3 separate regions of the Homo sapiens genome follow, and all the other regions are linked to region 3. Evidence: promoter capture Hi-C in human tissues and cell types (Jung and others, 2019). All regions are on one chromosome and are shown on one strand. Each heading gives the region's core, a stretch centred on a gene start or on the middle of the fragment in contact. The rest is flanking DNA. Distances are from core to core; before and after follow the strand shown. Region 1 overlaps CPA6 (carboxypeptidase A6). Region 2 overlaps PPP1R42 (protein phosphatase 1 regulatory subunit 42). Region 3 holds the start of ARFGEF1 (ARF guanine nucleotide exchange factor 1).

Region 1 (3,643 bases), core at 679-3,178, 380 kb before region 3:
CTTGATAAAATTCCTCTTCCCTAATCTTTTCTGACTTTCCATCACTTTGAACTTCTCACTGTTTGAGTAGACATCACCAGTGATCTATATATACTTCATTATCTCCCTAACCAGTAACCTCAACCTGAAAACTATAAGAAAAAGAGCTTCTGAATAAAAATTATTTTTCAATCACTTACAAATCATTTTTCTTGGCCTCTGTCTTGCTCTCATGAGTTCTAAAACCTTGATTAAAGAGGCTTTTGTCTTAAAACTCAGGCTTCTGGTTAAGGAATGTTGAAAAATCTTAAATTTGCAGCTATCTTAAGTGACAGATCATAGCGCAAATCTGGGGTACCCATTGTCATCCAGAAAAAAAATTATCTTCAAAGTAGGATGGTCCAAAGTAGCATACATATCTAAAATTTATTTTATCTCATTCTTAAGTACATTTTAATTTTTTGTGTTTTATAATGTAAATAGCCAAGCATGGTGGCTTACGCATGTTATCCCAGCACTTTGGGAGGCTGAGGCAGGAGGATTGCTGAACCAGGAGGATTGCTTGAGGCCAAGATTGCTTGAGACCAGCCTGAGTGACACAGCAATACCTTGTCTCTACAAAAACAATTTTAAAATAAAACCCAGGCACAGTGGCACAAGTCTGTGGTCCTAGCTACTCTAGAGGCAGAGGTGAGAGGATCTCTTGAACCCACGAGTTCAAGGTTGCAGTGAGCTATGGTTGTGCCACTGCACTCCAGCCTGGGTGACAGAGTGACTCCATCTCTAAAAAAACGAAATGTAAAATACTGGTACATTAAGTAACAATGTAGATGTAAAATGACTTAAAGTCTATGGAGATTGAAGTTGCTTACAATTTTCAGTCATGAAGTTTTGAAAATGGAGGTGATGATGATCTCAAAGTTCCTTGTTCACCAACAACAGCATATACTGAGGCCTATATTCATTTATTTGTTAAATTTGTATTGAGCACCTATATGTCCCAAATTGTTTTAGATATTAGGAATATAAAGGGCTAGCACTAAGGCAGAAAAAAAGCACCTGTTTTGTGAAGCCCATAATTTCACGAGGGAAACAAACAATGAACAAGTAAACAGTTATAAACTCTTACAACAGCTATGATATAAATAAACAAGATACTGTGGTTTTTCTTTACTCATTCAACAAAGGTTTTGATCATCTAATACATACCTGGAACCATGCTAAGCACTCTACACAAAATGGACATGATCCTTGTTTTCACTGAATTTCCACTCTAGCCCAGGTAGCCGACTATTCTAGCCCAGGTAACTCAGATTAATTACAACTGTGGTTAAAGTTATAAGGGACTTCTCCTTTATAACTTGTTAACACAGAATGCTAACAACTCAGAAGGAACTGATAACCAAAAATTGGGGGATGAGTCTAAGATGGAAGAGGACTTCCTGAAGATGTTATCCTTAAGGCAGGGCCTTGAATGATGAGGAATTTGTTGGGCATGGCTGTGAGAGCAGATCAGAGCTGTTGAGAGTCTCCAGCTTGGGAAAGGAAGTAAGGGGTACATGATTGCTCCCGTTGCTTACTGATTATTTTTAATTGTGTGGTTTTAAGGGAAACTGGGCCCAATGGCTTACTGTCAGTTGTATGTAGGACATTAGACTTTGCAAAGCACTTTGTCTTGGGTTGTCTCAGTTGTTCCTCATCTATGTGTGTGGTATGCAAGTAGTTGCTTTCAATTCTCATAGATATAAGTGCTACACAGGTGTCTTCTCAAAACTCAGTTTCTAAACTCTGCAAGTAAATGTGTCCTTCCGTTGTAGGGCACACCTGAAATTGGTGAAGTGGTGCTCAGTGGGGCTTTTTGTTTTGTGTACAGAGCTTTCTGAATATAAGCTTTTGGCTTCAAGAAGCATTGAGCTGCTGTAAGTTCGCTGCAGAGTTGAAAGGGGAGACGTGGGGGCACACGTCAAAAGGACAGCTCAGCTGTGATTAGGAGGTATGTGAGGTTTACCAAAGGCAACACACCACATGAGAAAATCAGACCCTGGTGCCAAGAGGCCCTACAGCTAGAGAAAAGAGGTGAGTGTGAGAAGGCCATGTAGGAGGAGAGACATCTACTCATTGATGTATCTGATGTAAACAAGCACAGGTTCTACATTTTAAACACAGGGGACTTCAGAAGTAGTGTGTCAGAGAGGGAAAAAAGTCAGTGAATTTGTATGCTTTGCTCATTTTTGGGTTTTTTTAAATTTTTAATTTTGCATTTTCTTATCAGCTTCTGAGAGAACCATGTATTAGAGATATTAATCCTTTGTGTATCATATCTGTAACACATGCTTCTTTACCAATCTGTCATTTGTCTTTTGACTTTTTCTGTAAGGAAAAGAGCAATAGAAACCATCTTAATGGTTATAATTCAAATCCACCATTAGTTTTTCTTTCTTTGTGGTATTTAGTTTTAGCTTGTTTAAAAATGTCAAATATTGCTCCCACTCTAAATATTCTAGGATTGTTTTCCTGCTGATTTTGCATAATTTTTCTTTTTTACATTTAGATCTTTATATGGAATTATTTTTTTGTACACAGTATAAGGAAGAATATAACTTAATTTTATCCTAGAGGGCCATTTACAGAAGAGAATATGCAAAGAAAAACTAACTTACATAAAAAGGCACATTTCACTCACAAGGAAATGCAAATTAAAACAATTAAGTGTTTTAATTTTTCCCATAGATAGAAAATGCTTAGTGCTGGTGAGGATGAGGAAGCAACTGGAACTGTCATATAGTGCCAGAGAAGGTCAAATTGTTATAACCTCTTCGGAAAGTAATCAGCTGAATCTAATAAAAGTTAAGATCCTCCGCCACGCACGGTGGCTCACGCCTGTAATCCTAACACTTTGGGAGGCCAAAGAGGGTTGATTCCTTGAGCCTAGGAGGTTGAGACAAGTCTAGGCAACATGGTGAGACCCTCGTCTCTATTTAAATAAAAATTTCTATATGTCAAAAAAAGTTTTAAGAGTTAAGATCCTCACACCCTTTTGATAAATCCTATTAGAAAATACCTGTCTGAAATAAAATAATTAGCATGTGTGTTAAAATTGTAGCACTGTATGTGTTGATTTTTCTAAAAGCTGAAAACAAAGTCCATCAGTACGGGAACAATAGAAAAATCATGATATATCTATAATATGGAATGTTATGAGGCTATTACAAAGAATGAGTTATGGCATATATTGAACTAGAGGGGTGTGTGTGATATATTTTAAAATGAAAATAGAGTTTGAGAGTAATATGTATGATTCTATTTTGGAAATGTGCTGATTTTTAGAGTGTAGGGGATGTTTTAGTGTATGTTTAGGTTTTTCTTTTGGTGGGGAGGAAATGGTGGTAGTGGTAATTTGTGAGCGTAAATCAACTTCTCCCTTTAACATTAAAATGGTCTGGTATACCAACATGAGAGATTTAATTTTATTACATAGTGATGTATTTCATAAGAACTGAACTAAGTAAGAAGAAACCTGGGTTCCATTTTGATTTGCATGTCTTGGACTTGTCATTGTGTTCCTGGCATCTCTTCTTCCCAACACATGATGAGGAAATAAAAAATATCAAGTGCTCCAAATGTCCCTGAAATAAGGGTATCATAGGGCAAAAGGATAATCTTT
Region 2 (4,117 bases), core at 745-3,244, 370 kb after region 3:
GTTAAATAGTTTTGCTACAATTTTTAAAAGTCCATATAGAATGTTATAGTATGTAAGCTTCATTTCAGACCTTGTGGTAGTTGCTGTTATGATAATTATTAATAATTTAAAATGGAAAGCACTCAGAATTAGAAGGCAAAGAAGAGGGGGCAAGGGAAGAAAAAAGAACTGACATTTACTGTGCTAAACATTTCAGATATTTACATACATTACTGCATTTAATCATTATAACCTGTGAGGCAGAAGATCATTATATGCATTTTGCAGATGAGAAAGTTCAGTTTCAGCAAATGAAGTGACTTGTCTTGAGTTTACAAAGCTAGCAGGGGGCACAGGCTAAATGAAGCTGGGATATAAGGACAATTAATGTTCTAAAGCAATAATGCTCTACTTAGAAATTCACTTCAATTTGGTGGGAATTTGGGAAAATAACAGATGTGGAAATATGTGATATGTAAACAATTTTTATAACTAAAAAGGAGCTAGAGGAAATAGGATAATATGACAAATTTCAAAATTTTAAAGGGAGTACTCAAATAGATTACATAATTTACTATATTGAAAAATGGTCTCGGCCAGGTGCGGTGGCTCATGCCTGTAATCCCAGGACTTTGGGAGGCTGAGGTGGGCAGATCACCTGAGGTCAGGAGTTCACGACCAGCCTGGCCAACATGGTGAAACCCCGCCTCTACTAATAGTACAAAAATTAGCCGGGTGTGGTGGCAGGCGCCTATAATCCCAGCTACTAGGGAGGCTGAGGCAGGAGAATCACTTGAACCCGGGAGGCAAAGGTTGTAGTGAGCCGAGATTGTGCCACTGCATTCCAGCCTGGGTGACAAGATGACACTCTGTCTCAAAAAAAAATGGTCTCTAAAATCAATTAAAATAAAATTTAAAGTGAACACACTGAGTAGCTGCAGCAGAAAATTTTCTGAGCTTTTCTCAGGAGTACTTGGTTATTCTTCCTTGGCCATTTGTAGGTCCTCCCTCCCCTTTGCCCATGTTTGCCATCCCCATCCAAACAGATGGTACAAACCTGGAACTCTCAGGCTTAAAAGCAGTGACATCCCTGTATACACGTATGTAATATACAATAACTCTATCCTTTTGTATATGTCCAATAGCATACTATATGGTCTTTATGCAAAGACTCTTTTATAACTGTGCAAGAGAAAGGGAAAGCATAAATTAAAATCTAGAAAATATATTATGTATTTTCAAAATCTACAGTATACCTACCTTTCAGGTCTTTAGAAGAGTTAAGATGAACTTTTTAAAGGCACCTCTGTGCAACCAAATACATTGTAAGGGAACAGGAATTCTTAAAAAGATGGTAATAATTTTTGTACTTCCTAATCTTTTATGTGTTTTTGATAGCCTTGTAAATTTGGAGCTCTATATTGGGGATTATGGTAAAATTATAGGAATTATTATAACCTCTAACTTCAAGGATCTTACAATTTAAAAATCTTATCCTAAGTATAGCCATATAGCTATATAACACAAAATTGTAAACATACTTTAATATCTTAATAAAATCCAAAATATTATACTCACATCTTTTAGCCCTTTCTTTTATAGCACTTCTATAGAAAAATTCATAACAAACATTTAATAAACATTTATTAAGCACCTCGAATGTGTCCAAGAATATGCCAGCCACTGTGGATTAGAGGTGAATAGGGCTGTCCCTACTTAAAAGGAAATTACTGCTGGAAAGGGAGGAGGATCTGAAAGCAGGTAAATGATATGGAATGTTAAGTGCCAGAATAAAGGTATGGACATATCCCCAAAACGATACACGATTAATTTACTCCCTACAAGTTAAACAATTTGAAAAAATAAACTAACTCAGAACAGTAAAATTAAGGGCAGTTAATGTTTATATTAATGTTGGCATGCTCATTTTATTTTAAGAGTTGATCATGAACTTTCCTGTATAGGTTTTTGTATATGAAAGTCTGTGCTATTTTTTCCTCGGGTTATTAATTTTATTACTAGTTTTACTGTGTATTCATTTGGCTTTATTTAATTTTTAGATAATCTAATATTGTTATACCCTTTTTAAAAATTTAGTTATTAATTTCAAAGCAGAATGCTTTTATTTCTTTGTGTGCTACAGGTAACTTCAAAACAATGCATCATATAGTTCCTGTTTATTACCCACAGGTGGGTAAGCCAAAATTAGCCTTTTTCTCTGAAATACAGAGATACCCTGTAAATGCAAATGCATCTCCAGAAAGTTCCTGAGAAGATTACACTAAAATTATTTAAGAGATGGGGTAGGTTCTTTCAAATATTTATGTGACTTTATCTTTTTGGTGGGGAGGAGACATCTTCACAGTAAACAAAGAGGAACAGAGGCCATCCAATCTGTCTCCTAGTTCTTTGTTCTCAATCCTTTTTGGCCAAACATAGAAAGAAAGAAAAAAAAAGTTCATTGTTGGTCTGCCCAAACACTCAGAAAGTTACGATGGGAAGGGGTGTTTCCAGAAGACTTCGGCGTTAGACTGGATACACCCACTGAGGTAAGGTAGGAGACTCCGAAAAGTCCCAGAGGCAGTAGGTAAAGATGTCTCAATGATCAGGGATTCTGTCAAAGGAGCCTGAGGCCTAGCTGATGATGACTAGTCCACCAGTGGGTGGGCGACTTCAGAGCATATGGTTGCAGAAAGTCCAGAGGCCTACAGAATTAGACTACTTTCACCACTTCTACAAACCAGATTTTTAAGCTGTTGTCTCTGAAGGAGGCAGAAGTTTCTCCTGATGAGGAAAAATTTGCTTTTTGGTTTAAAAAAGGTATTGCTTTGATGGAAAAATAAACCAGAGCTGGGGACAATGGTTCACGCCTATAATCTCAGCATTTTGGGAGGCTTAGGTGGGCAGATCATTTTAGTCCAGGAGTTCAAGACCAGCCTGGCCAACATGGAGAAACCCCTTCTCTACAAAAAAAAAAATACAAAAATTAGCTGGACATGGTGGTGCGTGCCTATAGTCCCAGCTACTTTGGAGGCTGAAGTGGGAGGGTCACTTGAGCCTGGGAGACAGAGGCTGCAATGAGCTGAGATCGCTCCACTGCACTCCAGCCTGGGCAACAGAGTGGGACCCCATCTCAATAAATTAAATAAATAAATACCCATACCAGAAAGTAATTTCATTTATATATAAAACATGAGACATCTGCCATATGCTGGGCAACACTGAATATAAAAACTCAAATGAGATAATCCTGATCTCAAATATTTTGCCACAAGCTAGCTGGGGAGTCAAATGTGATATAATTACTCTATAATGTGATAAATGCTATGGGCTTTAAAAACCAGATCCTAATACATCTTATAAATTTTGCATTAAACTTATTTTTTCATTTATAATCAATACAATGATTGCTCTATTGATCCTTCCAACCAAATAAGATTAGTGATCGCAATATACTAAAGGCCAATAATAGCATATTTCATTGAGAAAGTAAACAGAGCCAGGGGACATACTTTGGAATCGTTTTCCTTTTCCCAGAACTGCCTGCTGAAGGTCAAGTGGGCTTATCATGACACCCTCTTCGAAGGGTCCCATCGAGGGATGATGATTTAGAATTGCCTAGTACAGCCCACCTCAAGAAGCCCTGTGAACATTACTGCTGCACTGTCCTACCCCTATTCCCTGCAGAGTGGCTCAGGCTTGCTGGGATGCAGTCTTAGGAGAGAGAAGGTCTGTGGGTATGGAAAATGCTTTATTTGGGGAGAAGTGAAAGGATATGCAGGGAGTCCTCGTTTTGGTCTTGCCTCCTCTCCATTCACAATAAAACAGGAGCTATGTGAGACATTTACTGCTTATGTCCATTGTCATTATCACCAAACCATTGCCTACTTGTCCATAGCACCACAATAATTTCTTAAAGATTTACACAACTGTTATCAATTCCACAACAGTGTTCTTAAGTTTTGTTGCTTTGCCAAGCATTTTGAAAAATCTTGCTAGTATATCATCAAGGAAGAAAATAAAACAATAAAAATGTACACAGCCTCAGAAAACAATGTTGATGAATTCTATACATTGCCACGTGCATTGTTAGATCAATAGTGAGCTGTGGCCCATTCCACATATTCTGTAGCCCCAA
Region 3 (3,587 bases), core at 4-2,503:
TAAGAGTATAATGAATCCTTCATTTCCAGGAATCTAGAGATAGTCTCTAAAATAAAATTAATGAATTTATAGATTTGTTTCTCAGGACAATAAAGTTTAAAAAAATTAATCTATTTTTCCACTTTAATTTGTCACCTTCAAGTTTTCCATTTTATTTCCTCTGGGTTTTAGCCTTCCTAAATCTGGTCACTTCACTAAGTTCACAGAGTCACTTAAGTTTCTCCTTCCTTAGGTTTGGATGGTTACGTTAGGACAAGCCTATAGTTAAGGCAATCTAATAGAACAGAACAGTGACAGATGCATAGTAAACATTAGGGAACCTGTGTGCGTGGAGCCACAGAAGCTTAGAACTTGGAGACGTGACCCTAGATCACCATATATAATGTTTGCAAATATTTTTATGGTATTCTTTTTCTGCTCAGAAGGAAACTGTAGAAATTAAATACTGCAGAAATTTGAGTTCTACACTCAGACTAAAGCAAACACATGGTCACGTGTGTTAATCTGTTTGTACTTAAAGCTTTTCCATTCTAAACTGGTTTACATGTCCTGGACTAAATCTTAGTATTAAAGGCACAGAAACACAGAACTCTAAGGGACCTCATTCACAACCATTCACCTTAACTGAGTCAATTCAGAAGGGACCTGAAATCTAGAGTTGACCGATTTATCCGACAGAGAGAGAAAAAAGTGAAACATTTTTGAACCCTTATCAATAGGTTTTGGCTTACTTTTCCCAAAACAGAATCCTCCCTGAGGTAGTCGGAGAGCAGAGTCCTGGACAGCAGTTCCGTGCACTAGGGAAGGAAATTTTAGAGTCGAGTGATGCAGGCGGAGACCCTGCGGCTGAGAACGGGCGATGCGGGTGTTGCTGTGACCCCTGGAATGCAAAGGACTGCACCCCCATCAGAAAGTTAGAAAGCCAGTGCAGAGTAGCCAGGAGTCCTGTTCACTCGGCAGGAGCAGGGGTGCCGAGTGGGGGGATCTCTGGTCCCGCAGCTCGGCCGCCACCAAGAGCCCGAAGTGCTGGGCGCGGTGCCACCAGAGGCCCGCCACGCCCCACGCCGCCCTGCAGGCGAACGCTGGAGGCCCCGCCGGGCCGCCGTAGCGCTGCGGCTCGGGCCGCTCCTCCCGCGCCGCCCTCCGCCCCCAGCCTCCCGGCGCCGCGGCAGCTCTGGGCAGGGAGCGCCGCCGCCGCCGCCGCCGCCGCCGCTTCCTCGTCTGCAGCCGTTCGGCCGCTGCGTGACGCGTCGTTTCCTCCCAACATGGCGGCCGGGGCAGGTCGGCGGTGATGGGGGCCAGTTCGCGGCCGCGGCGGGTGCTAATCCCCACAGTAGCCAGGGTAGCCCTTCTCTCGCGGTGCCTCTGAGAGCCGCCGCCACCTCGTCCCTCAGTTCCCGGCAGACAGCCGCCCGGGCCGGGCTCCCTCACCGCCACCAGGGCCGGAGGGACGAGTGAGAGGGGCGGCCGGGACGCGACCCCCGGGCCGGGAGAAGCGGAGGCCCGACGGGCGCGGCCCTCGAGGTACGGCTTCTTGGGGGCGGCGAGGACCTCGACGCCCTTCGCCGACACCGCGGCTGGTCCCGCTCGCCCGCCCCTTCCTGATCCTGCCGCTGCCCTCCACGCCTCCAATCCCCCACCTCCACCCCCTCTCCTTTCTCTCTTCTCTTCCTTCCTCTCCTCCTCCTCCCCTCCAGCCGCTGGGAGCCGCGGGTCGGACGAGCCGCCGCCTCCTTCTCTGCGTCCATGTATGAGGGGAAGAAGACGAAGAACATGTTCCTGACCCGGGCTCTGGAGAAGATATTGGCCGACAAGGAAGTGAAGAAGGCGCATCACTCCCAGCTGCGCAAAGCTTGCGAGGTGGCGTTAGGTGAGCGGGGAGGAGGCCCGGGGGATGGGGTGCTTGTTGTGGGGCGGGGAGGGGGGCGCCTGTGGGGGGGTGGGGTCGCCCGGGGCTTGCCCGAGGCCCGCGCCTCTGACCTCGGGAAGCCCTCGCGGAGCCCTCTGTTCCCTGTCTGGAGTTGACAGGAACTCGGCTGGATGTGGGGCAGAGGCGGGGTAGAGGAGGAAGGGCAGTGAGCTGGGCTCGGGAAACGCGGCAGGGCTTAGGATCGCGGGGCACCTGGGTTCGAGGGATCGACTTGAGAGTGAGAGGATTTTGTTGGTGGTCCGTGAGGTGCGGACTGGATACCACCCTTTGTGATGAAGCAGAAGATGAGCTGTTGTTTATTAGCTTGGAAATTGAGGTGGGGCTGGTATGTCAAGATTGGGTGTGGGAAAGGTTCCGTATCATAATTAACAATAACTTTTTCGTTTGGCGAGGTACTTTGGGGAGATAGGCTGCTGAAGTTGTTTCCTTGTTGACAGTCTTGAGAAGGGGTTTGCAAGAGGTGCAGCCCGTTCTGACATCTCTCCGCCTCCGCCACAGGAAAAACATAGAGTAATATTGTATCTGACTGGGCTGACCTGGAAGAACAAGACCGGTGGTTAAGGGGTGAGGGTGGGGGTGGCGGCATGAAAGCAGGGAAGCAAAGAACCTTTAGATAAAATGGCTTTAGGTGACAAGGGAAGGGAGGGTTTGAAATGAGGAAAATGAAAAAGACAATGACACCCACCAGCCACATGTCTGGACAGTGGCAGCTGCTCTCAAGCTTGAATTGTGATTTATAGTTCAGATGGAAGAGATCTAGTGTAATGAAGCCCGCAGCAGGGAAAATCCAAACAATACCTCCTACCTATGAGGTTAGGCAGATGAGGAGTTGTTAAAGGGGGAACATTGTTAGATCTATTGCATCCATCAAAGTTGAAATCGTTTGAGAGACCAGAACATTTAACACAAAGATACATTCCTAATGTTTACACTTTATAGCACTGGAAATACACTAGGTCAAATTGGCAAGAAAAGGAAGCTTGTTAAATGGGCTTTACAAAAAAGCATTCTTGAAAGGGGAAAAATCCACAATAACTTAAAGTATGCTAGAGTTAAGGAGTCTAGACAACTTAAAATTAGCTTTTAATTATTAAATGGAAGACTACCATTTAATTTGCTGTAATATACTGTAGTTTTTTTTTCCTAGATCGTTAAAATTGGTAATATGAAAAACGTCGAAGAAATTTCATCTTAAAACATTTGAATGTGTAGTATTAGGGGCTTAAGATTATTTTTTCACCTTACTTATCGACCAGAAGTTTGCATTTTGTTATTTTTGTAGCTAACAAAAGACTGTTCCCGGTGTATGAGAAGACAGTTGTCTAGTGGCAAAAACTGTATTTATATCTAGATCCTGAAAGGAATAATATTAAATTGGAGTGAGACTGGGGAGAAAGTGATTTCAGGATTTTTAAAAGAATTGTTATATGTAGGTTTGTAAATTACTTGAAGGTTGAAGAACTTTAGAGAGATTCAAATTAAAGTTTTAAATTTTTGTTTGTTTTTTGAGACAGGGGCTTGCTCTGTCACCCAGACTGAAGCGCAGTGACACAATCAGTGCTCAGTGCCGCCTCAAACTCCCAGGATCAGGCATTCCTCCTGCCTCAGCCTCCCAAGTAATTGGGACTTCAGGCACACCACCACACCTGGCTAATTT

What was found. Contacts are between HindIII fragments. The study calls those that stand out against the background at their distance.
Region 1: a fragment that was not itself captured here is called in contact with the fragment with the promoter of ARFGEF1 in region 3 in 1 of the 25 tissues and cell types used here (lymphoblastoid cells).
Region 2: a contact is called between a fragment that was not itself captured here and the fragment with the promoter of ARFGEF1 in region 3, in 1 of the 25 tissues and cell types used here (mesendoderm cells).

What each region holds. Positions count from the first base shown.
Region 1 is chr8:67,722,661-67,726,303 of GRCh38, reverse strand. The region is part of intron 1 of CPA6 (carboxypeptidase A6); the gene reads left to right. Among named protein-coding and RNA genes, the nearest start is that of CPA6, 22 kb to the left of the region's middle. The HindIII fragment of the contact is 4,297 bases long and covers 1-3,643 here.
Region 2 is chr8:66,969,146-66,973,262 of GRCh38, reverse strand. The region is part of intron 7 of PPP1R42 (protein phosphatase 1 regulatory subunit 42); the gene reads left to right. Among named protein-coding and RNA genes, the nearest start is that of TCF24, 8.6 kb to the right of the region's middle. The HindIII fragment of the contact is 6,698 bases long and covers 1-4,117 here.
Region 3 is chr8:67,341,447-67,345,033 of GRCh38, reverse strand. It overlaps ARFGEF1 (ARF guanine nucleotide exchange factor 1), which reads left to right and starts at 1,253. Exons shown (of 39, transcript NM_006421.5): 1 at 1,253-1,870. The coding sequence starts at 1,747. It overlaps ARFGEF1-DT (ARFGEF1 divergent transcript), which reads right to left and starts at 1,200. Exons shown (of 5, transcript NR_136224.1): 1 at 732-1,200. RefSeq lists silencers at 963-1,222, 1,403-1,632 and an enhancer at 1,559-2,239. The HindIII fragment of the contact is 2,723 bases long and covers 1-2,252 here.